Linked DNA regions of Homo sapiens: regions 2, 3, 4, 5, 6 and 7 are each linked to region 1. The links are contacts of gene promoters, found by promoter capture Hi-C in blood cells and fetal thymus (Javierre and others, 2016). All regions are on one chromosome and are shown on one strand. The core of a region is centred on a gene start or on the middle of the fragment in contact, and the rest is flanking DNA. Distances in the headings are between cores, read along the strand shown.

Region 1 (3,321 bases), core at 498-2,997:
GGTAAGGAAGGTTGCAAATGTTAAGATGCCAAACAGGAACCCAACCGAAGTCCGAAGTGAAATACAGCCTCCTCTGGCCCAACTGTCATGCAAACAACTTCTAAGCATCTTCAGATGTAAAGAAAAACAGTCATTGTGCACAGGCGTTAGCTGAATGTTCGAGAGTTGGATGAATGGGGAAGACTTGTTATACACCTAGTGGTGGGTGGATTTCACTAGGCTGCAGCCTCCACACAGCTTTTCTTTGCTGCACTGCAGAGGCGCCATCTTCTCCGTCTTAATCTTCACTCAATTCGATCCTTTTATCTGCACCCTAAAAAAAAGACCCTTCGGACCCTCCCCAGCATCCTGTGCCCCCAGGGGAACTAAACCAGAGTCCCCAGAGCTGCCAGGGAAGAGGCCGCGCCTTAATCAGACAAACGCCTCCTTGGATGCACAGGACAGAGCCCGTGCCTCCCCACCATCCGCCACTGCCCTTTCCAGACGCACATCCCACTCTCCGCCTTATTTCCTCCCCGCCAAGGACTTTACAGCCCAGCACAGAATTAAGCCTCGGAGGTGATCCGAGGGTGGGAAGCAGAGGGGCCCCGAGGCTCCGCCAGAAGCCCCGGCAGCGTCTCTGCCCCCTCCCAGGCGGACGCGCAGCCCCGGGAAGGGAGCCGGGCGGGAGCCTCGGTGGCGCACTGAGACTAACGCGGCTCGGCCCACGGCGAGGGCGGGGTGTCGCGGCTTTTGTTCCCGCGGACCTTCTGCCTCTCAGACAGAGCTTAGGGTGCGAGCGAACTCCCGGGACGTCCAGACTTGGGGAAGGCGCGGGGTGGCTATGGGTCTCCGACCCCTCCCATTTCTCGCAAGTTACACAAAAGGGAGACGCGGACATGCACAAAGTTTGCCTGTGGAAGGCGGTGCGCGACCCCGACGCCGGCTCGGGCTAGGGTCGCACCCAGGCTGCCGCCGCCAGCAGCCGCGAAAAGAGGTTGGAGCAAGGAAGGGGGATGGGGGTGAGAGAGGAAGGTGAAACGAGGCGGAGAACGCAGGGAAAAGCGAGGGGCTCCTAGCTTCCTGGGCTGTCCCGACTCCTCCTCCTCCTCCCCAGGGCCCAAGAGAAAGGAAAGGGCAACGATTCAAGAGCGAAGGACTGGCTTTAGGGACGCTGCGTTTTCGGTTTTCCCCACGTGCTCCTTCCCCCTTCCCCCCTGTCTGAATGTCTCTCGCCTCCCCCGACCCCCGCTTCCAAGGCAGGGACTAAGTCGGGGTCTGGGCTCAGGGTCGCCCCCTACCCTTCTCGCCCCGGGCTGGCGCGGAACCAGGGAGACCAGCGCCTCGCCCGCTCCCTCTCAGCGGGCCGGAGCGCGACTCCCTGGGGCAGGGCTGGGCCGAAAGCGGGGATGCGCTGGACGTCCGCAAGCGGGGGCGGAGAGGAGAGGGGTCCCATTGACGGACCCCCGGCTTCTCTGCATTAAAGACTTGGGTTAAGGTCTTGGGGGGTATCGCGTCCCCACCGTGCAGCCTCCCCCCGCCTTCCGAGGCGCGGCACCCACCTCCAGCGCCCGAGCCGTCCAGGCGGCCAGCAGGAGCAGTGCCAAACCGGGCAGCATCGCGACCCTGCGCGGGGCACCGAGTGCGCTGCTGTGCGAGTGGGATCCGCCGCGTCCTTGCTCTGCCCGCGCCGCCACCGCCGCCGTCTCCCGGGGCCCCCGCGCACGCTCCTCCGCGTGCTCTCGCCTACCGCTGCCGAGGAAACTGACGGAGCCCGAGCGCGGCGGCGGGGCTCAGAGCCAGGCGAGTCAGCTGATCCGGCCCACCCCGCTCGGCACCCGAGAGAGACCCCTAGCGGCGCCGCCGGGGAACTGCGCCCGCTCGCGCCGGGAGGGGCCCTCGCGCCCCGCGCCCACAGGTGCACGCGCCCTTGGCGCCGCCTGCACCCCACGCGCCCCCTCCGCTCCCCGGCCGACGGCCCACCTGGGCTTCGTGAACAGTGGGAGGGAGAGTCTGGGGCCAGGAGAGGGACGGTGCAGGATCAGGGAAAGGTGAGTCCTAGGACGCTGAGGCTCTAGAAAAGTCGAGAGCGCTCCTGCTCGTCCCCGTGAGCTTGAATCATCCGACCCCGCAGGCCTCCCGGGGGTGTCGTATAAAGGACTGCTGCTAGGGTGCGTTTTTATCCGCATTTCGTTTTTTCTCTCGGTTTGGAGAGGTGGGGCAGGCGTTTCTGGAAGAGAATGAGAACGAGTGAAGCTTAAAGGAAATAGGATTTTCTTTGCTTGTTGAGACAGCAAAACCTCATTTTTTAACCCCCAACGTCAAAAGCAGGCACGAGCAACCTGGAATTTCTATCTTTAGAACGAACCAAAGGAGCAAGGCGCAGGACCTGGCAAAGAAGCGGCCAACCCATTTACTTCTTCTTGAAAGCAGGGTTCTGGGCTTGGGTTTTGTTTCTTTCTTATATTTTTGTTTGTTTTTGGTTTTGTTTTGTTAAAGGGGGTGGTCAGTGTGGATTTTGCGGGGCGGGGGGTCTTTTTTTGTTGTTAAGCAGGGATGTAACATCCATCTGAGTTGGGGAAGAAGGAAAAATTAGGAGAGATCATTCGTATTCGACCCCCGTAAATGAGGACTTCTGACCTCAAACGCTGCCCTTGTTCTTCATTGTGTCTGTCCTGAATTATAGAAATGAACCTTCTGCCATGCCACTTTCTCCTGGATTAAACACAAACCGTCCACTGTCCAGTTAGTGTCCAGATAGTTTAGAATGCTCTAGAACTGCCCAGATATATCCCCTGCTCTTGACCTGAAGTAGCATTTAGTTACCAAGCCACAGCCCACTCCACACAGGGCTTGGAGCGAAGGACTGAAGCCAGGGAGTGCTCTGGCCCTTCTGAGGGCTGCACTGCAGCCTGCCTTCTCTCCCTTGCTCATTGCGCTGACAAGGGTGCCTAGGCCCGGGAAGGATGGCTCAGCCAGCGGGGTACAGACTTCCTTCCTGGGAAGTCATTTCTGTACCAGCTCCCCTAAATGTTGTCTTGTGTGTCTTTTCCCGCACTAGGCATTCAGTCTTGACTCTTGGATTACTTTTGCCCCTGAATGTCCTTTGGATGTCCTCAACAAATAAGGACAAATATTTATTGTCATGCAGTATTTGTTTATACGCTTCATGTCATTTACTTCCTACAAAAGCCAAAGAGGCTGTTACTATTATTCCTATTTATACATCAGGAAAATGAAGCTAATGAACTCCCAAATCTAATAGCAAGTAAGTGACATGAAGCTGGGACAGCAGGGAAAAGCCTAAAGTGACAGGACAAACCCAGTTGTTCACTTTCTGCA
Region 2 (3,321 bases), core at 292-2,791, 470 kb before region 1:
TACATTTTCTCTTCACTGAGGCATAATATGGCTGTATGACTTGCTCAACATCACAGAAAATGGTGAACAGGATGTAAGAAGTTAACTTACTCCTTATCTATTACTCTTCTGTCTCCCATTTCACTGAAGAAAAATAACATAAAATTCATACTACAACTTAGCACTTACAGAACAAGACAATTTTTTGTCAGTAGTTTCTTTTAGGGTGAATCCTTCCTTCATAGATGTCAAATTCATTGACAAACTACAAGACAGTTTTTTTTTTTTGTCAGATAATAGCCCTTACTTTGAATGCTTCATAGATGTCAGATTTAATGACTACTACAAAGTAAATAGAAGGTACACTTTGGTTCTCAGGAATTTCACTTACTGATTTGACTTTGCCTAAGATTATGATTACTGTAGATTTTTTTCTCTCTCTGCTCTTTTTAATCCAAGTAAATAAAAAGCTGAATCTTATTGACCTCTCAATACCCAAGCAAACTGAGTTTATACCAAGCAATAATTAATGTTTTCTACTCTGGTCAAATTACTTAACCTTTCAAAAGACTTATCAAGTTTTCTTTTTTAAAAAAATCAATTAATATTTTGGAGGTATTTAAGAAAATTAATAACACACTTGGCATTAGGAAAGAATTTCGAGACCAGAAGTTTTTATGATAAGCAGATTCACTTAAACAGTATCTCTAAAAAGATCATTTCCAAAATGTACATTGCTTTAAAATATTTAAATTATTTTTGAGAAAATGCTATGTAATATTTTCTCTAGGTTATTTAATCATAGGCTAATTAAAACTTGCTTTGTAAAATGGGAACTCTTTGAAGAATTGCTCCTTTAATAAATACATGGGAAGTATCTAAATGGCAGAAGAGTGTGGCTCATAAAATCCTCATGGACAAGATGGAGAAATATGGTCCAAACAATATTTTGGTGGATCCACACACAGTTGAATCCCATGCTCAGAGAATGTTAATAAATTGTGTTGTATGACAGGAGGTGTCTGCTAGCCTGTTACATAGTTGTTTCCTAAACAAATCCATGTTCATCATGTTATTAATGACTTGAATGAGAGTATTTTTAATAAAATTCTCAATTTGCAGAAATGTTAAGCTTGGAAGGTTAATAATGTAATTATTAGGCAACAGAATCAATCTGAGAAGAAGAAAAAAACTTCACAGTAGTTATTTCCAAACTTGGGTTCAAAAAATCCAGTTGCATTACATTAGAGGACGGATGCCTTAACAGTCATAGGAAAAGCCTCAGAGAATTTAATTCATTTTTCATAAATGGGATGACAGTTTAGTTGCATATATGTATATGACTGTGTATGTGTGTATACACCCATATACATATAATTGTATATCTACACCCATATAATTCAAGAAGGAACGTATTTCTTACACTTAGTTTTACAGAATAACAATGACATGTGCTTTTTTTTAAGAGACAGTCTTGCTCTGTCACCCAGACTGGAGAGAAGTAGTGCAATCATAGTTCACTATAATCTGAAACTCCTAGGCTCAAGTGATCCTCCAACCTCAGCCTCCTGAGTAGCTGGGACTCCAGGAATGCACCACCATACCCGGATAATTTTTTTAATTTTTTTATTTTTTAGAGATGGATTCTTGCTATGTTGCCTAGGCTGGTCTCAAATTCCTAGCCTCAAGCAGTCCTCCCACCTCAGCCTCCTGAGTAGCTGGGATTACAGGCATGAGTCAACATGCCTGGCACCATGTGTTTTCTTTGACGTTGAGTTTTTCTTTATTTGTGAAATTGACACAGTTGATGATGTAGGAGAATTTTAAGTAAGACGTGGGGTAGGGAGTGGCAGTAGAATACTTGAACTCATTGAACTTCAAAGATTGCTTCCAGTCTTTTAATCCTGTGAATTATTACACATCTCCAAATGAATGCAAAAGAATACATTTTATTTTTTAATCTGAGAAGTTTTTAAAATTTAGTATTTTTCCAAAGCTTAAGTTCTGTTAATATTTTTAATCAATTTTGAACCATGTCTTAGAAGTGAGTTAGTTGAACAGGCTTCACAATCGTTAAAGTATGCTTTATGATATAGCTGCAAAGGGGATCTTTTTTTGAACCTTTTCAATTTAATGACTGCATCTGTCCGTGTAATCCACATATATTTATGCGTAATTTATTTTACATTCCAGATGATCTCAACATAAGTGGCATCATAGCAGCCGTAGTAGTTGTGGCCTTAGTGATTTCCGTTTGTGGCCTTGGTGTATGCTATGCTCAGAGGAAAGGCTACTTTTCAAGTAAGTGAATTTCACCCTTCTTTGGCAGATAACTTTCTATGGCTATGGAGTTTATTTATGAGATACTGTTTCTCCTAGGAAGTTGTTTTTTTGTTTGTTTGTTTGTTTTTCAGACAGAGTCTTGCTCTGTTGCCCAGGCTGGAGTGCAGTGGTGGCAAAATCTCCACTCAATACAACCTCCACCTCCCAGGTTCAAGTGATTCTCATGTCTCAGCCTCCCAAATAGCTGGGATTGCAAGTGTGCACCAACACACCCAGCTCATCTTTGTATTTTTAGTACAGATGGGGTTTCGCTATGTTGGCCAGGCTGGTCTCGAACTCCTGGCCTCAAGTGATCTGCCTGCCTTGGCCTTCCAAAGTGCTGGGATTACAGGTGTGAGCTATTGTGCCCGGCCCTCTCCTAGCAAGTTTTAACAAACTCTGGAGAATATTGTTCATTTATTTTCTGCTATAGAAAATGTTCAGGATGACATGCAGGTGGCTTATGAAACACCTTGGCAAACCTAGGGAGAAAAGGCAGAACTGCCTAGTTGCACATTCCAGGGAGCACCACAGAATATGCAAGAGGCATCCTTGGAGTGGTGCAGTGCAGCGAGACAGAGATATTCAATGTGAACGGATATTTATAGTATCTTTGCATGTTTTTAAGATTTTTTTTTGTTTGTTTTTTTGAGACGGAGTCTCACTGTGTCGCCCAGGCTGGAGTGCAGTAGCGCAATTTCGGCTCACTGCAAGCTCCACCTCCCAGGTTCACACCATTCTCCTGCCTCAGCCTCCCGAGTAGCTGGGACTACAGGCTCCCGCCACCACGCCCGGCTAATTTTTGTATTTTTAGTAGAGACGGGGTTTCATCGTGTTAGCCGGGATGGTCTCAATCTCCTGACCTCCTGATCCACCCACCTTGGCCTCCCAAAGTGCTGGGATAACAGGTGTGAGCCACCGCGCCCAGACAAGATATTTTTAAGTTAGGAATTGTATATCTCAAGATATAAGTTGATTTCAAATTCTTTAAGAAATTTCATTGAAATAAATAAGTGAAAT
Region 3 (3,321 bases), core at 533-3,032, 450 kb before region 1:
GTAGAGACAGGGTTTCACCATGTTGGCCAGGCTGATCTTGAACTCCTGACCTCAGTGATCTGCCTACCTCGGCCTCCCAAAGTGCTGGGATTACAGGTGTGAGCCACTGCGCCCAGCCAACTTCTTAATTTCTCATTCTCAAACTTTCTTTCCAAATATTTACTATGGAATTTAACTACTGCTGAATTGAAGTTACTGTAGGTTAAGAAACATTTTCTTTCTAAATTTTAGGATAATATATACCAAAGAGAATGAATAAAAGTTTTACAAAGACGCTATGTTCATATAACAGGATGTTAATTGGGACTTTCTCTGTTGCCTAAAGACTAGAAACAAGTATCTCACTTTCTAGGGAAAATGAAGGCTGGACGCAGTGGCTCACACCTGTAATCCCAGCACTTTGGGAGGCTGAGGTGGGAGGATCATTGGAATCTAGAAGTTCGAGAACAGCATGGGTGACGTAGTGAGACTGTCTCAAAAAACTGAAAAACTAGCTGGGTGTGGTGACATGCACCTGTAGTCCCAGCTACTCGGGAGGCTGAGACAGGAGGATCACTTGAGCCCAGAAGGTTGAGGCTGCAGTGAGCTGTGATCACACCACTGCAACTCTAGCCTGGGCAAAAGAGTGACACCTTGTTTCAAGAAAAGAAAAGAAAAAAAAAAAGAAAAGAAAAAATACATTGGGTATAAATACCCCTTCACTGTTGATGAAGAGACAGCCACCCTGAAATAATTACTCCAGTCCACCACTACTCTTTACCCTTCACCTCATCACACAGTCCATATAAGCTGAAGTGTGTATGGATGGATTTGGGATGGGAAGGAACGAGGGGATGGAAAGAGACAGAGAATGAGTTTGCCAAAGTCATAAGGAGTACTATTCCCCCAGGTCACCCCCAAAGGAAGTAAAGAGAATATTTAAGACATCACTTGCAAAAACTGAAGGCACCTGCCAAGGAAATAGGAGCTATTTGAGCCAGTGGAAAGGGAGCTGGAAAAAAATATCAAGAAGAGGGGGAGGGCCAGGCGTGGTAGTGCATGCCTGTAGCCTGTAGCCACTCTGGAGGCTGAACTGGGGGGATTGCTTAAGCCCAGGAGTTCAAGGCTGCAGTGAGCTATGATCAAGCCACTGCCTGGGCAACAGAACAAAAGCCCATCTCTTAAAAAAAAGGAGAGCGAAAAAAATTTGCCAGGCATGGTGGCGGGTGCCTGTAGTCCCAGCTACTCGGGAGGCTGAGGCAGGAGAATGGCGTGAACCCGGGTGGTGGAGCTTGCAGTGAGCCGAGATCGCGCCACTGCACTCCAGCCTGGGCAACAGAGCAAGACTCCATCTCAAAAAAAAAAAAAAAGAGCAAAGTAGGGGAGGATGGTGAAATATACCTGTTTTCCCAAGATTTCTTAGGTCAAGGACATGAGTGTCCCGTGGATCCAGTAGGCACCATTGGAAGTAGTTGGCGTTCAGCCTTCTTGCCAGTGTCTCACCAGACCAAACATTGGAAACAGTGTGTACTTACCATTCCAGTGGGAGCTAAGGGGTGTTTGGAAGGGAGTTGGCATGAACCTGCCATTTAAGGGAATGGAATCTGTACAACTGGGAAGACCTCAGCCACAGGGCCCCGCAAGAACTCATACATGCACCTTACTAGAGAGCTAGCATTTGGAAGGCTGCTACACCAGGAGCAGCAACAATCAGAGAAATAGTAAAAAACAAACAAAAAAGCCTACACTAAATGTTAAATAAGTAAAAATTGCCTAGCCTTCCTGGGTTACTATTAAAGGTAGTGCTATGTAAGTAACAGACACATGTCCCTTTCTAGTTCCCCTTACCTCTCCTCAACTCAAATTTCCTCTTCGTATAAGGACACCAGTCAGATAGGATTAAGACCTACCCTAAAGGTCTCATTTTAACTTAAAGTCCCTGTCTCCAAAGTCACATTATGAGGTATTGGAGGTTGGGCTTCAATTCAATCAAAGTATGAATTTTGGGGAAACACAATTCTTCATAACACCAGGCAAGGGGTAAAATAGCCATTTTAAATAACCACAAGGCTGAGATCATTTGTCATAATCACATAAGGTGGTTCTGAATGGTTAAGTGCAGGACAAGGAGTGACCTGGCAGGCTGAAGTGCTGCACAAAGGCCAGCATTTGCAGGGTTGGAGCAGCCTAGCCAAAAAGAGGAAGGGGCTCTGAGGAAGACGAAGCCTTGGTTAAGATCTGTGACTCACAGCACCACGAGAGGTTCAGTTGGAAAACAGGGAGTGCTTGCCTGACCAAAATTTAAATGTAAATGCACAGCCCTGTAATATAGGGCACGAGAATAGGATGCTTCTTACAGTCAAACAGAACCCTGTTTCAATAATGAACAAAGAGACTGGGACATGCAAGCAATTCCACAGTTGTGAGACAAGTAAAAAATGTGTTATGAGATAACTGTGTTAGCTGATAAAAGGTAAAATTCAACTAAACTTTGAATGAAGAAGGAGGTAAAGAGACAGGGAGAGGAAGCATATGCAGAAAAGGTCAGTTTGTTCTCTACTGACTGGCAGTTCCAGCTGACACAAGATGGCTTTGCAGCCACAGGTAGGTGGAGGAGAGCTGTTTCAGGGGAGGTTAAAGGAAGACCCTGGGACAACTAGACTTCCTCGATTACCTTTAGATAGTGCCATAATTAGACACCCGATTCTCTGTTCCAAAGCCTGCAATTATTTAAATAAAAGTAGTTCAACTGTTCTGTCACTGCTTAGCCACATTTGAAGAAAAGTGGGCTGTTTCTTCCTACTGTACTGCCCTCCCCAATTCCGTCTCTACACATCGTATTAATCATATCTATGTCATTAGGAAATATTTGTAGATCTTTCAAAAAGGTATTCCCTAGCAGGTTTTGCCTTCAGCTACAGTATGCCATAATAAAAATCTATTCCCTTTGGCCCAGGCGCAGTGGCTCAAGCCCGTAATCCCAACACTTTGGGAGGCCGAGGTGGGTGGATCACCTGAGGTCAGGAGTTTGAGACTAGCCTGGCCAACATGGTGAAACCCTGTCTCTACTAAAAATACAAAAATTAGCCGGGCATGGTGGCGCACACCTGTAATCCCAGCTACCCAGGAGGCTGAGGCAGGAGAATTGCTTGAACCTGGGCAACAGAGCGAGACTCCATCTCCAAAAAAAAAAAAAGAACACTGTTGGCTTCACACTTTTACACTTTTAAAGAAAATCTTAAAAATCTATTAAAGACCTATATTTATTAACACATATCAGAGATATTGTCAAATACTAAAAAGACATGGCTGCTTTTCCTTTAAAATTTACTTTTTTTAAGC
Region 4 (3,321 bases), core at 223-2,722, 430 kb before region 1:
AATTTGTCCCTTTTTTTGGTTATCAAATTCCAGGCCATTGTCTATTCCATCGTCACTTTTGGGTATTGGAAACATCTTTCCATTCTGTAGCCTGTCTGTTGAACATAAATCTTGATTTTTATGTAATCAGATTTTTCTCCTTACGGTTATGTTCTTGGAATTTTATTTAAGAAATCTTTTTCTATCCTGAGACCACAAAAATGTCCCCACCATTTTCTTCTGTTTCATAGTTTTGCCTTGTATGTTTAATCCTTTAAGGCATGTGTAGTTCATTTTATATGGTGTGAAATAGTTCTTATTCATTTATTCAACACATATTGGTGGAGTGCCTGCTGAAGGTAGTACTCTTCAGAGTACTTTGTATATATTTGTGAACACATATTCTTGCCCTGGAAGCTTATGTTGTCCTTCAAGGTAGATCCCTACTCGGTTTCCACCTGTTTTCTTCAGCCCTCAGGATGAATTCCACAATTTTACACATAGCACCAGTTAAGGAATAGGCTTTATTGGAGAAAAGGAAGGCTTATTAGACCAGCATCAGCAAGAAAAAAAAAAACCAAAAACAGAGGGTCTTCATTTCTTCATCATCCCCAAAAAAGCCTGCTGGAGCCTGCGCATTCTGCTAGATATGCACGTGAACAGAATCTGCGCAGTCGGCTAGATGTGCTTGTGAACGGAGCCTGCGCAGTCTGCTCCATATGCATGCGTCCATCCCAGTGGAGAACCTTACCCTTTTATTGTTCGTCCTTAAAGGGCAAGCCTGAGAGCAACCTTAATTACGTGGGAAAAATTAGATCATTTTGTATCAGGCAGTCTAGATTTGGGTGCCAGCTATTTGTCAGAAAACCAGCTACCCCATAGTTGGAGATATTGAGAACTTAGGAGAGTTATAGCCCTTTCTAAAGTGGGAAGGGAGACTCAGTTTCTTAATGCTAGTGTAACAAATTATGCAAATTTAGTGGCTTAAAAACACCACCTGTTTATTATCTTACAGTTTTGGAGTCAGAAATATGAAGTAGGTCTCTGGGCTAAAATGAGGTGTTGCCAGTGCTGTTTTTCTAGAGCCTTCGAGGGAGAATCCGTTCCTTGTCTAGCTTTCAGAAGCTACCTGCATTCCTTGGCTCAAAGCTCCTTTCCTCCATCTTCAAAGCCAGTCACAGCTAACCGGCAGATCTTCACATTGAATCACTCTGGCTCTCTCTTCCAATTTCCTCTTCTACTTTTAAGGACCTTCTACTTTTATTTATTTGTTTCAAGAGATAGGGTCTCGCTGTTGCCCAGGAGGGAGTGCAGTGGCACGATCATCATTGACTGCAGCCTCGACTCCTGGTCTCAAGCGATCTTCTCACTTCAGCCTCCCAAGTAGCTAGGACAACAGTTGCACACCACCATGCCTGGCTAATTTTAAAAATGTTTTTATAGGAGACAGGTTCTTTTTATGTTGCCCAGGCTGGTCTTGAACTCATGGGTTCAAACAGTCCTCTCTCCTCGATCTCCCAGAGTATTAGGATTACAGGCATGAGGCACCGTATCTGGCCCTAGCTGCGTTTTAAAAACGATCACACTCTGGCCGTTGTATTGACTGAGAATAGACTGTGAGGGGACAAGAGTGGACACAGGGACCCCCTTTAGGAGATTGTTGCAGTACTCCAGGTAAGGGGTGGTGGTGGCTGTTGTACTGATATACGCAATACAGAGCCTATATTTGGACAACCATGGTTCATCCCCATCTGGAATGATACCTACTTAGGTTGATACACCAAAACTGTGACATGGAGCCACAAGTGGTTTAGCCTCACCTCTGAATAGCGTTCGTATGAGATGGAGCTCAAAATAAGATTGCTCTATGCAAAGCATTTGAATGCAGTGCCTGATGCTCGGCGAGTAATGGTTAATACAAATGAACATTTAAATTCTTCATTTAGTGAAATCTTGTAAGTGGGAGCACAACTCTTTTGTAAATGTCGAAATACCAAATTTAGTGGAGCGTTCCTTTTAAAGGTACGCCTCTTTTTAGATGTGGTAGTACGCTTAGAATAACTACTCAGAAGGTGCTGTGGACTGAAAGTGCGTATGGAATTCAAAGACATTCATTGACCTACTGCGAGGTAGTTAATAACAGAACCTGGTACTTAACAGTATTAACACCTCAGACATGTCCACAAAGAAATATCTATGTATATTAGCTATTTGTGTATTCTTTAGCATTTTTAAAATTCTAATGTTTTTGTATCAGTGGTTTTAAGCAATAGATAAAAATTTTACATGGGATAATTAAAAACTGAAGTAGTGGTCTGTTTAAAATAAAACCACCTCTGAAAAAATCATTAAAAATTTTCTACTGTGTGTAATCAGGGAAATAATGTGCATATCTGTAATTTGTTACTTTGTTTTGCTGTTTTATAATATTCTTGCATTTATAAGAGACATCATTTGTACCAAATCCTAGCTGATTAATTTGCATATCATTGTATCAGTGTGATACTTTGCAGTAAATTCTGCTACTAAGGTACAACTTTCAGCTGAATAAACATAGTTCATCTCCATGTTAAGCTTCAGGTTTGAATCTGTTATTGAGACTGAGTTGCTTTAATATAGTTAACAGACCCTTAACTTAATTTTGAGGTAACTTGTTGATTGCAATTGGTCCCGAAAACATCTCAGTAAATCCAGTAGATTAATGAAGTTGTCATGTCAGGTTAATAAACACCAGTTTTTTAAAAAATTAGTTTATAAATGTCATTTGTGGATTTTCTTTATTTTATTTTTCAAACAGGGTCTCTTGTCGCCCATACTGGAGTGCAGTGGTGCGATCATGGCTCACTGCAGCCTCAGCCTCCTGGGCTCAGGTGATCCTCCCACCTCAGCCTCCGAAGTATTAATAGCTGGGACTACAGGCGCGTGCCACCACGCCCTGCTCATTTTTGTATTTTTAGTAGAGACAGGATTTCGCCAAGTTACCCAGGCTGATTTCAAACTCCTGGGCTCAAGCAATCTGCCTGCCTTGGCCTCCCAAAGTCCTGGGATTAGAGACATGAGCCACCACACCCAGCTGATTTTCTTCTATATGTAAAGACTACTTCCCCCTCTTCTGCTTGGCGTTTGCTTTTTATTTGGATTGGGTCTCTACTTCTTGTGTGTCATTTCGTTTATGTGGATAGTTTTAAAATATCTTAAAAAGTCACTCTTGCAGGACTGATCCTTTGAAATACTCCAGCCATGACTAAAAGAGAAGCAGAGGAGCTGATAGAAATTGAGATTGATGGAACAGAGAAAGCAGAGTGCACAGAAGAAAGGTTGGTGTTTCTGAATTTATCATTT
Region 5 (3,321 bases), core at 526-3,025, 410 kb after region 1:
CTACAATTACTACTAAGTACGTGATGTGTCCTATTTTATTTAATTATTTTAATCAGCTGCTTCATCATTTTTTGTTTGTTTGTTTGCTTCTGGAAAAACACTCCAAAATCGGTCCCTAATTCAAAGAAAAAGGACAAGATGGAAGCTTCACTGTTAGAATATTTTTCTATGTATCCTATTAATTGTGACATTTGCATTCACTCCGAGGACAATGAAACAATGGCATTTGTATAAGCCTGTTTTTAAATTTTGTTTATTACTTTTTATTTGGAAATCTCAAATACAAAATTTGAAAGAGTGGTATAAAGCACTCACATATTTTTTACTCCGTTTCACCTATTAGCGTTCTATCTCTTTTGCCATTTGTTCTTTTTCTCTATCTGTGCACATATTACTGTTTTTCTGAATCATTCAAGAGTAAGTTGCACACATTGTAGCTCTTTCCCCCTAAATATTTCAGTATGTGTGTTAATCTGTTGGAAACTTCCAACCTATATTTGCTAATTTTTCCTTTCCTACCAATATGCAATCTACAGGGAGACATTAAGCCGTGCAAATATCCTGCTCTTCAGCAAATTTTCCTCCTTTAGGTTTAACACACATTAGTAATTTTTGCTTGAAGCAATCTTTACTGTTATGGATGCAAATTATCATGTTTTGAACTCCAGCTTTCCCTCTGTCTATTCACCAGTTGTTGCTCGTCATTCAAAATAAGAATGCCTCTCCCTCATTGATTGATTGATTGTGAGTATGGACTTAAGAATTCCTACTTTTTCAAGAGTTTATAATTCATTAATCTTAAAATGTCCCATTTTGGGCCAGTGGAGCATCTTCAAGCTAGCTATTGTGTCCTTGTGACACAACCCCACAAGTGTTTTGGGAATTTCTTAACTTTTTGACATAAAAGATATCCCAGGTTCATTTTGAATCTTCTCTGCTCCAGCCCTGAAATCAGTCATTTCTCTGAGGAGTTCTGGGTCCTTTTAGTGGATAATGGTCTTAGAGATCAAAGTACCCTAGAACTTAAAGTATAATAATAATAAAAAAAAAGAATGGGGAAAAGAAAGAAATCAAAGTGCATGTTACTGCTGGAGTGCCTTTGTATCTTGTCTCTTTCAGTATAAGAGCTAGGAAATATATGCATGTTTTACACACACACACACACACACGGGCACTCAGATATATATATGTATATATGTAGCTGTGTATATATATATATAATGTGTATATATATATATCATCACCATAGGGCTGTTCCTTGACTTCTCTCACTCCATATTTGTAACTCTTTTTACACTTGCTATTTCTTCACTCACTCCTGTAATACATCTAAAACAGTTTCAGAATTGAATTGCTCTGTCCATACCACAACATAAAATAACAATACAAAAAAAAAACACTAAAAAGAATTTAGATTGTGCTTTCAATTAATTCTCCCCCCAACTCCACCCAAGACTGAGGGCGTATAGTCAGTTACTGTGTTCATCACTTACTTGAGTTAGTGCTCCCCTACCCCTGCCAACTTTAATTCACTTGAAATGCATTTGGGTTCATTTATTTCCATTTGCTTTCGGTTTTACTTAGGTTGCTGCTATTGGTGCTGCTATTGTTTGCTTTGTTTTCTCTCCCATCATTGTTGACTTGTTTTTTGAATATGTAGAACATTAGAGAGCTTCTAAAAGTAAAAAAAAAAAATAAATACCAAAGGCTATATTCAGGGAAGTGTTAATCCTTCCCGTATGCCTCCATTCCAGTCTCCCTGTTCCTCTAACATAACCGGTGGTCATGATTTTCTAGTTTCTCTCTAATGTGTTTCTTTTTTAATAAAGATAAGCAGATTTTTTAGTAGCTTGTTGTGGTGATATATGCAAAGCAATTCTGAAATTATTTTAGATGTATTATAGGATTGTGGAATGGGTAACAGCAAGGAAGAACCTCGTGGTGATGGATTGAAATTAGAGTTATTGGTACAGATTTCATTATTTCCCTTTCCTTCTTACACGGAAGATAGCATACTGTATATGTTCTTTTGCACTATTTTTGTTTTTTGTTTGTACTGAATGATATATCCAGGAGATCATTCCATATCAGTTCCTAGAGATTGTCCTCATTCATCTATTGTTGCTCCATAGTTTACACGAAATGTGTACCATTGTTTTCTCATATGTTTGAATATTTACTTATCGGTATTTGCAATAGCAAATAATGCTGCAATGAATAACCTTAATAACCTTGAAAATATGTATTTTCTTGTTGTTGGAGCTATATCTCAGGGTAAATTTGCAGAAGTGGTAACGCATTTTGCTAAATATTGCCAAATCCTGCTCTAGAGGGACTGTGACATTTTGCATTCCCAGCAGTAATGTATTCCTTACAACTTTGCCTACATAATATATTGCTGAGCTTTTGGATTTTTTCTTTATTGCCAATTTGATGGAAGAGTTGATTTTTCTTGCATTTCTCTTATGAGTGAAATTGAACATCACAGGACTGTTAGTTATAATCTTTTTGTGAGTTACTTATTCAAATCTTTGCCCATTTTTCTTTAGGATTTTGGTGTTTTTCCCTCAATTTTAAAAATTTCTTTGTATATTAGGGATGTTAGATTTTTTAAAGTGGTATATGTTGCAATTTCTTTCACTTATGGTGTTCATGCCATACAAAGGATTTAATTTTAAAGAGGTCAAATGTAATAATTTTCTTTTTGTGGTGCCTGGGTTGTGAAGTTTTGGGCAGAAAGTCTTTTTCTACTCTCAGATTGTAGAGGAACTTACCCTCAATAATAATACTTTTGCAGTTTCATATTATACATTTCGATTTCTGTGTTGTTAGATACATAACTCCGTAGGGTAGCAGGATATACATTAGCATGTAACAACAAATACCGTTTAAATAGATGAATTATAACTAGGTAAATGTATGTTTCTTTTGTTGGTGAGAGGTTCTATGTGGAGATTTGAAATCTGATGACTATCATTGTTTTCCAATTGAAGGTCTGATGCATTGATTTTAATACAACTGGAAATTCTTCTAGTGGATGATATCTTATTTCTGCTTGCAGTACAGAGAATGATATGGAAAAACTAATGGAATGCCTGTTTGCTTAAAACATGGAAATTTATTCTGTAGTAATAAACAAATATAAATGTCATTCATATTATGACAATTTTGTCTTTTTGGAACATACAAATATTTCACCATACAAAGAGAAAAAAATGGGAAACATTCTTTGTTTAATTAAAGCAAGTCTCCCACTCTATATGTTTGTAAAATAACACTATGTTAATTTGAATTTTGCAAAAGGAAAAGTATCATCCATCT
Region 6 (3,321 bases), core at 315-2,814, 410 kb before region 1:
AAGATAGAATGGTTTACAAGACACATTTCTTGTATTTCTTAGTGTGTTGTGAGGGGACAGCTGAGTAAAACAGGCAATTACCATGTTTATTTATTTATTGGAAATGCATCATAAGGGTAAATGCAGGAGCAGCCAGCTTTTTACAGGAAGGAAAAGGGAGGAAAAAGGATATGGTTCATAGTTTGGAGAATAAAGCTAGCTTCTTAGAATCCCCTTTTGATTTTTTTTCAATGCAACTGCAAATTTTTTTAAACTTGGATAATTTACTTTATTCTCTCCAGAATAATCTCATATTTTATTCTTTCATTTGGCCCACTGGAGAGCAGTTTTGCATTTTGTTTTTCTTGATACAGTTCCAGCTGAGGTTGAACCAAGTGACTGCATCAGAAATTTAGATTAAGAAATTGGAAAGGAGCTGAGGAAAAAATTACAGCATAATTTTTTTTTTTTTTTTTTTTTTTGCTTCATATAGTAAGTTTACCTCATATACTTGGGGAAAGAAAACATCTGTGTGTATGTGTGTGTATTGAGAAGTTAACTGTAAATTTACACAGTATCTAAAATGGAACTAGGCTAAAGTGAATATTTTTCTTTCTAGATCCCATACAGTGGTCCACAGACCAAGTCCTGCATTGGGTGGTTTGGGTAATGAAGGAATTCAGCATGACCGATATAGACCTCACCACACTCAACATTTCGGGGAGAGAATTATGTAGTCTCAACCAAGAAGATTTTTTTCAGCGGGTTCCTCGGGGAGAAATTCTCTGGAGTCATCTGGAACTTCTCCGAAAATGTATGAAATTACAGTTATTTCTTTACATTGTAATTTAAGCTTAATTTTATTTCCTTGTAACTTTGTTTTCATCTTAGTTGTTTATTGATAATGATAAGTAATAAGCAATAATAATTAACATTTATTTACTGTATAATGCTATGCTGAAAGCTCTATATGTTCTTTAATTCCTATAGTAACACCATAAGTCATTACTTTGCTTATTTTTTAGATAGGAAAGTGAGGCTTTGAGAGCCCCATAAAGTCACAGCTAGGAAGTGGCAGAGCCAGGATTCAAGCCCAGGCTAACATTAGAATCCAAGTTCTTAAATCAGATGCTGTGCCCTACACTTAGCCCTCTTCATATATTCCATTTGTTGCCTTCTGTTTGATCAGCTCTTACATTTACTGCTCATCTAGAAACGGAAGAGATCATTTGTTTACAGGTGGCTTCCTACCCATTCTCTTCATTATTGATGAGATTAAATCTTTTTTGAAGTCTTTACTATTAATTGAATAGAGTCTTAAGAGGGAAGGAAGTGTATGCAGCCACCTTTTGGCATTGGAAGCCATTGGTTATAAGTTTTTCCACTTATAACTTGTAAGGCTTCAGACATTATTATGATTAAGTGACCATGTAAAGAAATTGGATGAGGCAGGCAGATCACTTGAGGTTAGAAGTTCGAGACCAGCCTGGCCAACGTGGTGAAACCCCATCTCCACTAAAAATACAAAAAATAGGCGGACAAGGTGGTGCGTGTCTGTAGTCCTACCTACTTGGGAGGTTGAGGCGAGAGGATAGCCTGAACCTGAAAGGCGGAGGTTGCAGTGAGCTGAGACTGCGCCACTACACTCCAGCATGGTGACAGAGCAAGAGTCTCAATTGGAAAAAAAAGAGAGAGAGAAGTTTGGAAACTACTTGGCTGTCCAAGAAAACAAGGCACAAATGTAAATTATTTTTGCTTGAATTTTAATCCATCTTATATTTCAGTCACTGTTAAGACACCGAAAGCAACCCATTCCTTGACAGTTTTGCATATCAGAAATGCTAGCCAGACCCACATATTTTTCAGAACACATGACTACAACATACTCTGACTTTGCTTTTGTATCAGTTATGGATGAAAATGTTAATGATAGCATTTTGTTTTATTATATACCCAATAAGGAGAGAGCTCTGGTGGAGGGATTTTTCCACCGTAATTCAATGCTTGCAGTTTTCATTCAAGGTGCTTTCTCTGGCCAGGTGCAGTGGCTCACTCCTGTAACCCCAGCACTTTGGGAGTCTGGGGTGGGCAGATCACTTGAGATGAGGAGTTGAAAGTGCTTTCTCTGCTGGTGAATAAGAAATGAGCTCTGGAGAGAGGCATTTCTTAATTGTTTATAATTTTATTCTTGTGAGGATTCTCCCAGATGTTTTTTTTAAGTATCTATGATACTAAAAGACTTAGTACATTCATTGTATTTGCAGCATTTATTTCCAATTTCCATTCTTACTAGATAAGTAAGTTGAATGTCCTGGTTGAAGCTTTGTCCTTGGTTTCACAGATTTCCTTCCCTGCAGAGGTTTTGAAATGAATAAGGTAGATTCTGAATTGTGAAACATGTGAGTCATGTTTATTGAAACACTTTCTTATAAGAAATCTCAAGAACACAACAAAGATAGTGCATAGATGGTAGTTTCATTTTTCCCAAATCCACGTTTTTTCCAGTCTTTCCCAGGTCAGCTGTTTGTTGTGGCTGTCTCTTTCTGGTTCTCTTATTGCTTCTCAAACTTTAAAGCTTATTCATAGGCTTTTCCCAGAACAGAAGTCAAAGGTGTCTTGTGTATCTTTCCATTTCCATGCAGTTGAATGAGTCTTCCTCAGAAAAGCTCTGCTCTGGAACCATTGCTTTGTCTTTTAAAGCAACAAAGTCCCACAGCCTAGATGAGTGTCTCACGGAATTTCTTGGTGATCCAGCCATGGTTCTTCACTCTGCCGGGGTAGGGAAATCCCATCTGCTTTGGAAATCTAGTGCTCAGTTCAGAATTGGGAGATGGGCAGGATGATGTGTAAGGGTATTTCTAACAGACTTTCTAGAATTCACAAGTCTTACTTCTCAGAATAGGGTTTTTTGAGCTCAGTGTAGTTAGTACTCTGGTCCCTTCTGTAGAGAGAAGTCTGCAGCCTATCTGCGAAAGGCACTGATTCTGGGACAGAACTGTTAATAACCCAGCCTCTATTATCCATCCTCAGTGATCTCTCAAGAAGCAGCAGTACTGAAGAGGTAGGGCTCCTTCTTCAGATATTTGTATGAGATTATTCACCTGAGCCACCACCTGCCTGCAGTCCCCCCTATGTTGAAACTACATCCAAGTCCCACTATACATGGGAGGATAATTAGGAAATGTCCCAGTACTACCAGTTCCATGATGTCCTTCTCGGTGTGAATCTCTGTCTTCTGTCACCAAAGGCAAATGAAGTTCTCAGTTTGCTAAGGGTTTTATTTAGGAAAAATAATTGTTTTATTCCTGTAGTGTCTAATGTTTCTTCATAAAATGGCTCCAT
Region 7 (3,321 bases), core at 1-2,500, 400 kb after region 1:
TTAATAATATATTTTGTTACTTTAAATACTGCGAAGTAATATGCCACTGTAAACATCATTATATATTTAAATTTGAGCTGATAAGTTACTGTAAAAAATCATCCTGACAGTTTTCTAATGTAAAAAGTGGGCTTAATTTCTTTTCTACCAAACCATCCATGAAGAAAAATTCAAACATTTTATTGGAGCTTATTTGCATTTCAAGGAAGGCTTAAATTCTATACATGGTTTTTAATTATAGCTTGACATTTCTTTCACATCTATTATAGTGTTCAAGAGTATCCCAAAGTATGATTTTTTATTTTGTATTCTCAGAGTCATGATCTCTAATAGGAGCCTCAACACTGATTCCAGAAAGTTTATGTGGTGCCAGGTTTTCTATTCTCGGGAAATGGAGGATGTGTAACAAGCCGTCTCAACGGACACTTCCCTAAAACAGCCAGGCACATATGACTTAGCGCCTAATGTTTCCCGTTTCCACTTGAGCCTTTGTAGGGCATGAATTAAACAGAACATTTCCCAAATCATCATGATACTGACTTGAAAAACAAGAACAGAAGACAGAGGCACAACCGTTGCTGCTCTCTGAAAGCCATGGGGATTTTGACTCAAGAAATTCTTATGTTCCCAATTCTCAACCCTCGTTTCTCAGTTGTGGGTTCCTCTCTTGAGGAATTGACAAGTGCACACTTTTCCAGCCGTACAGCCCTGGAGGCAGGTCCAGCTTCCATATTTCCCTTTGTCCAGAATCGGCTCTAAAATAAATTTCTAATTTGTTACAAGGAAATGCTTCACAGAGTCTACATGTACATATTTCATTTGTGTTTTTGTGCCTTGTTGTTTATCACTTTGCATTACTCATACCTAGCTTGTCTTAGGCTCTAAACTTGTTTCCTGAAGTTGCTGTATGTGTATCATGTGAGAACTGACATTTCATGTCTCAACTGTTTTTTATTCATAACCTCTCTTTTTCCTGACATCTACTGGATGTATTAAATTAATACATGATGACAAAATAAACTGGCTATAATTAAATAACAAATCTTAACTTGCACAAAACAGACAAAACCATATCACTGATGATGTTATAAAATTATCAATAAAATGATGTCTACTTAAAACATTATTATAGTACACAAAGTAAAACAATAAAAGAATAACTCTTTTTAGTTCCTTTATAATGAAGGCAATTTATTTTGTATATTATTTTGCATATTTTGTCAAACAATATAGTCCATTAGATAGCGATGTGTTAATATCTCCAGTAAAGATTTCATGTCAATAACCAATCTTGAAATCTCTTGCCCACAACTATCACTTAGTACTTTTAAAAGACATAACTGGACAACTGGACAAGAGGAAGAGCATCAGTATTGCCAAATCTGACGAATACTCACGAGAGGATATTCCCAATATAAGCGTAGTAGGAGCAACAGTAGGGCGTGGTTCCATCACAGCAGTAAGATTTGCAATCTTTGCCACACTGAGCAAGGCAATCATCTACAAAACAAAAACCACTTGTGAGCAGTTATAGTTGTAAAATCACAGTTTCAAGAAAAATTATTCTATTTCACAACTTAATCAGCCAATGACCACCCTTTAGTGGTTTTAAATCTTCATTTTCGTCCTCAGAATTCAAAAACATTTGTAAGGATCTAAATTAGCCTCTCTTCCCCATTAGACTCTAAGCTGTAAAGACAAAGACAACTCTTGAATCTTCTACACCAAGCACCATAATTACCAGTCAGGGTTAGTGGAATGAGATAATGAAGGAAGGAATGAAAGAACAATTAAACTACTCAGTCGCTGGATTTGTCCATAGAGTTTTTATAATAATTTTTAAATGATAAAGCCTTCTTGGCCAGGCAAAATGGCTCACGCATGTAATCCCAGCACTTTGGGAGGCTGAGGCGGGTGATCACTTGAGGTCAGGAGTCTGAGACCAGCCTGGCCAACATGATAAAATCCCGTGTCTACTAAAAATACAAAAAGTAGCTGGGTGTCGTGGTGCACACCTGTAATCTCAGCTACTCAGGAGGCTGAGGCAGGAGAATTACTTGAACCCAGGAGATGGAGGTTGCAATGAGCCGAGATCATGCCACTGCACTCCAGCCTGGGCGACACAGTGAGGCTCTGTCTCAAAAAAAAAAAAAAAAAAAAGAGTCTTCTTACTTTAGGGTCTTGTATTCCCAACTGAGCTCAATCAATAGAAGGTTTAGTGGCATATATAATACCAAAAAGGAATAATTTCAAAATGATGTATATTTTTCCATGATAGTGCATTGTATGCTTTTCATTTGGTGACTTTTTTTTACCTGTATAATTACAGTTTGCATATGTGTGGTAACACAATGAGTCTGCATCCTGTAAATTCATCTGGATGAAAAGATGATTGGTTATAGGAAGAAATCCCCAGAGACAATTATTTTGTAAATAATGAAGAGTTTACTTAATGTCAGATTGAGGAATCAGTAAGATATAAAACAGTACTATGTGAAGGGGGAAGAGTTATTTTCTGAATAAAGGATCAGAAATTACTATTTTTTCCATATATTTTGCTGCAAGAAAAATTATACTAAAAATGTTGGATAAAAATTACTCTAGCTTTTAAGTATTCTTTATTCCACCTAAATGATTTATGTTTAACAAGCAAAGGTTGTCACTGACTTAGTCGTATAAGTTATGATGGATATATAAGTTTCAGATACATGATTAGGAAAACATTAAGTACAGTCTGATAATTTATGTTGTACATTTAAGAGTCACAAAATAATCCATTTCCAGCTCAATTCCTGAAGGTAATATTAATTATTATATAAATTATATAAAACTTTTGTTTCCCTATCAAAGCTATAACATTAAAAATACAAAATATTATATTTATGTCTGCACGTCCATGTAACTGATTTATCCAGAAAGGAAATTTTACATTGCTTTTAAATCACTTCCCTGCTAAGATGATACTTTACAAAGAGATGTGATTAAAAGGCAGCAAAGTTCAGTCACCATTAACAATTATGCGTGGCTTTTGTGGAACAAATGGAAAAGTTCGTATTTTCTTCTCCTCAATTTTATTTTTACATTACAGATTGTCAAACATGACCCTTGAGGCTTACCTCTGGATTGTGGTATGAAGGAATGAAAGCGAAAAATAATTACCTTTGTGAGATTCAGTAAGTACTTAAGTCCACTTTTAAAATTTGAAAACAGAAACAAAATCTAACGATTTAGACACAAGGGAGAAGCCAATATATTGACAATAGATGCTTTTTGCAGAGTACAACAGACTTTTAAAGGCTATTTATTTTACAGTTTTCTTGG

The links. Contacts are between HindIII fragments. The CHiCAGO score rates a contact against its expected background, and 5 or more counts as called.
Region 2: a contact is called between a fragment that was not itself captured here and the fragment with the promoter of APP in region 1, in 1 of 17 cell types (fetal thymus). The highest score is 5.8, in fetal thymus.
Region 3: a fragment that was not itself captured here is called in contact with the fragment with the promoter of APP in region 1 in 4 of 17 cell types (erythroblasts, fetal thymus, megakaryocytes and 1 more); the score reaches 6.7 in erythroblasts.
Region 4: a contact is called between a fragment that was not itself captured here and the fragment with the promoter of APP in region 1, in 12 of 17 cell types (fetal thymus, non-activated CD4 T cells, naive CD4 T cells and 9 more). The highest score is 18.9, in fetal thymus.
Region 5: a fragment that was not itself captured here is called in contact with the fragment with the promoter of APP in region 1 in 1 of 17 cell types (endothelial precursors); the score reaches 10.2 in endothelial precursors.
Region 6: a fragment that was not itself captured here is called in contact with the fragment with the promoter of APP in region 1 in 7 of 17 cell types (fetal thymus, naive CD4 T cells, endothelial precursors and 4 more); the score reaches 7.6 in fetal thymus.
Region 7: a contact is called between a fragment that was not itself captured here and the fragment with the promoter of APP in region 1, in 1 of 17 cell types (megakaryocytes). The highest score is 5.8, in megakaryocytes.

What each region holds. Positions count from the first base shown.
Region 1 is chr21:26,169,023-26,172,343 of GRCh38, forward strand. It overlaps APP (amyloid beta precursor protein), which reads right to left and starts at 1,748. Exons shown (of 18, transcript NM_000484.4): 1 at 1,542-1,748. The coding sequence starts at 1,598. It overlaps APP-DT (APP divergent transcript), which reads left to right and starts at 1,845. Exons shown (of 4, transcript NR_186396.1): 1 at 1,845-2,030. RefSeq lists enhancers at 251-460, 959-1,483 and silencers at 501-770, 1,271-2,100. The HindIII fragment of the contact is 2,642 bases long and covers 1-2,233 here.
Region 2 is chr21:25,703,807-25,707,127 of GRCh38, forward strand. It overlaps JAM2 (junctional adhesion molecule 2), which reads left to right. Exons shown (of 10, transcript NM_021219.4): 7 at 2,173-2,280. All of the region lies in intron 1 of LOC124905002 (a long non-coding RNA gene), which reads right to left. Among named protein-coding and RNA genes, the nearest start is that of ATP5PF, 29 kb to the right of the region's middle. The HindIII fragment of the contact is 864 bases long and covers 1,110-1,973 here.
Region 3 is chr21:25,720,631-25,723,951 of GRCh38, forward strand. No RefSeq gene overlaps it. Among named protein-coding and RNA genes, the nearest start is that of ATP5PF, 13 kb to the right of the region's middle. The HindIII fragment of the contact is 4,581 bases long and covers 1-3,321 here.
Region 4 is chr21:25,738,380-25,741,700 of GRCh38, forward strand. It overlaps GABPA (GA binding protein transcription factor subunit alpha), which reads left to right. Exons shown (of 10, transcript NM_002040.4): 2 at 3,194-3,296. The coding sequence starts at 3,220. Among named protein-coding and RNA genes, the nearest start is that of GABPA, 5.1 kb to the left of the region's middle. The HindIII fragment of the contact is 2,157 bases long and covers 395-2,551 here.
Region 5 is chr21:26,582,410-26,585,730 of GRCh38, forward strand. No RefSeq gene overlaps it. Among named protein-coding and RNA genes, the nearest start is that of CYYR1, 11 kb to the left of the region's middle. The HindIII fragment of the contact is 3,264 bases long and covers 144-3,321 here.
Region 6 is chr21:25,757,412-25,760,732 of GRCh38, forward strand. It overlaps GABPA (GA binding protein transcription factor subunit alpha), which reads left to right. Exons shown (of 10, transcript NM_002040.4): 6 at 599-793. Among named protein-coding and RNA genes, the nearest start is that of GABPA, 24 kb to the left of the region's middle. The HindIII fragment of the contact is 1,468 bases long and covers 831-2,298 here.
Region 7 is chr21:26,564,869-26,568,189 of GRCh38, forward strand. It overlaps CYYR1 (cysteine and tyrosine rich 1), which reads right to left. Exons shown (of 4, transcript NM_001320768.2): 2 at 1,398-1,500. CYYR1-AS1 (CYYR1 antisense RNA 1) reads left to right here. Exons shown (of 4, transcript NR_135515.1): 4 at 3,089-3,321. Among named protein-coding and RNA genes, the nearest start is that of CYYR1, 6.8 kb to the right of the region's middle. The HindIII fragment of the contact is 9,781 bases long and covers 1-3,321 here.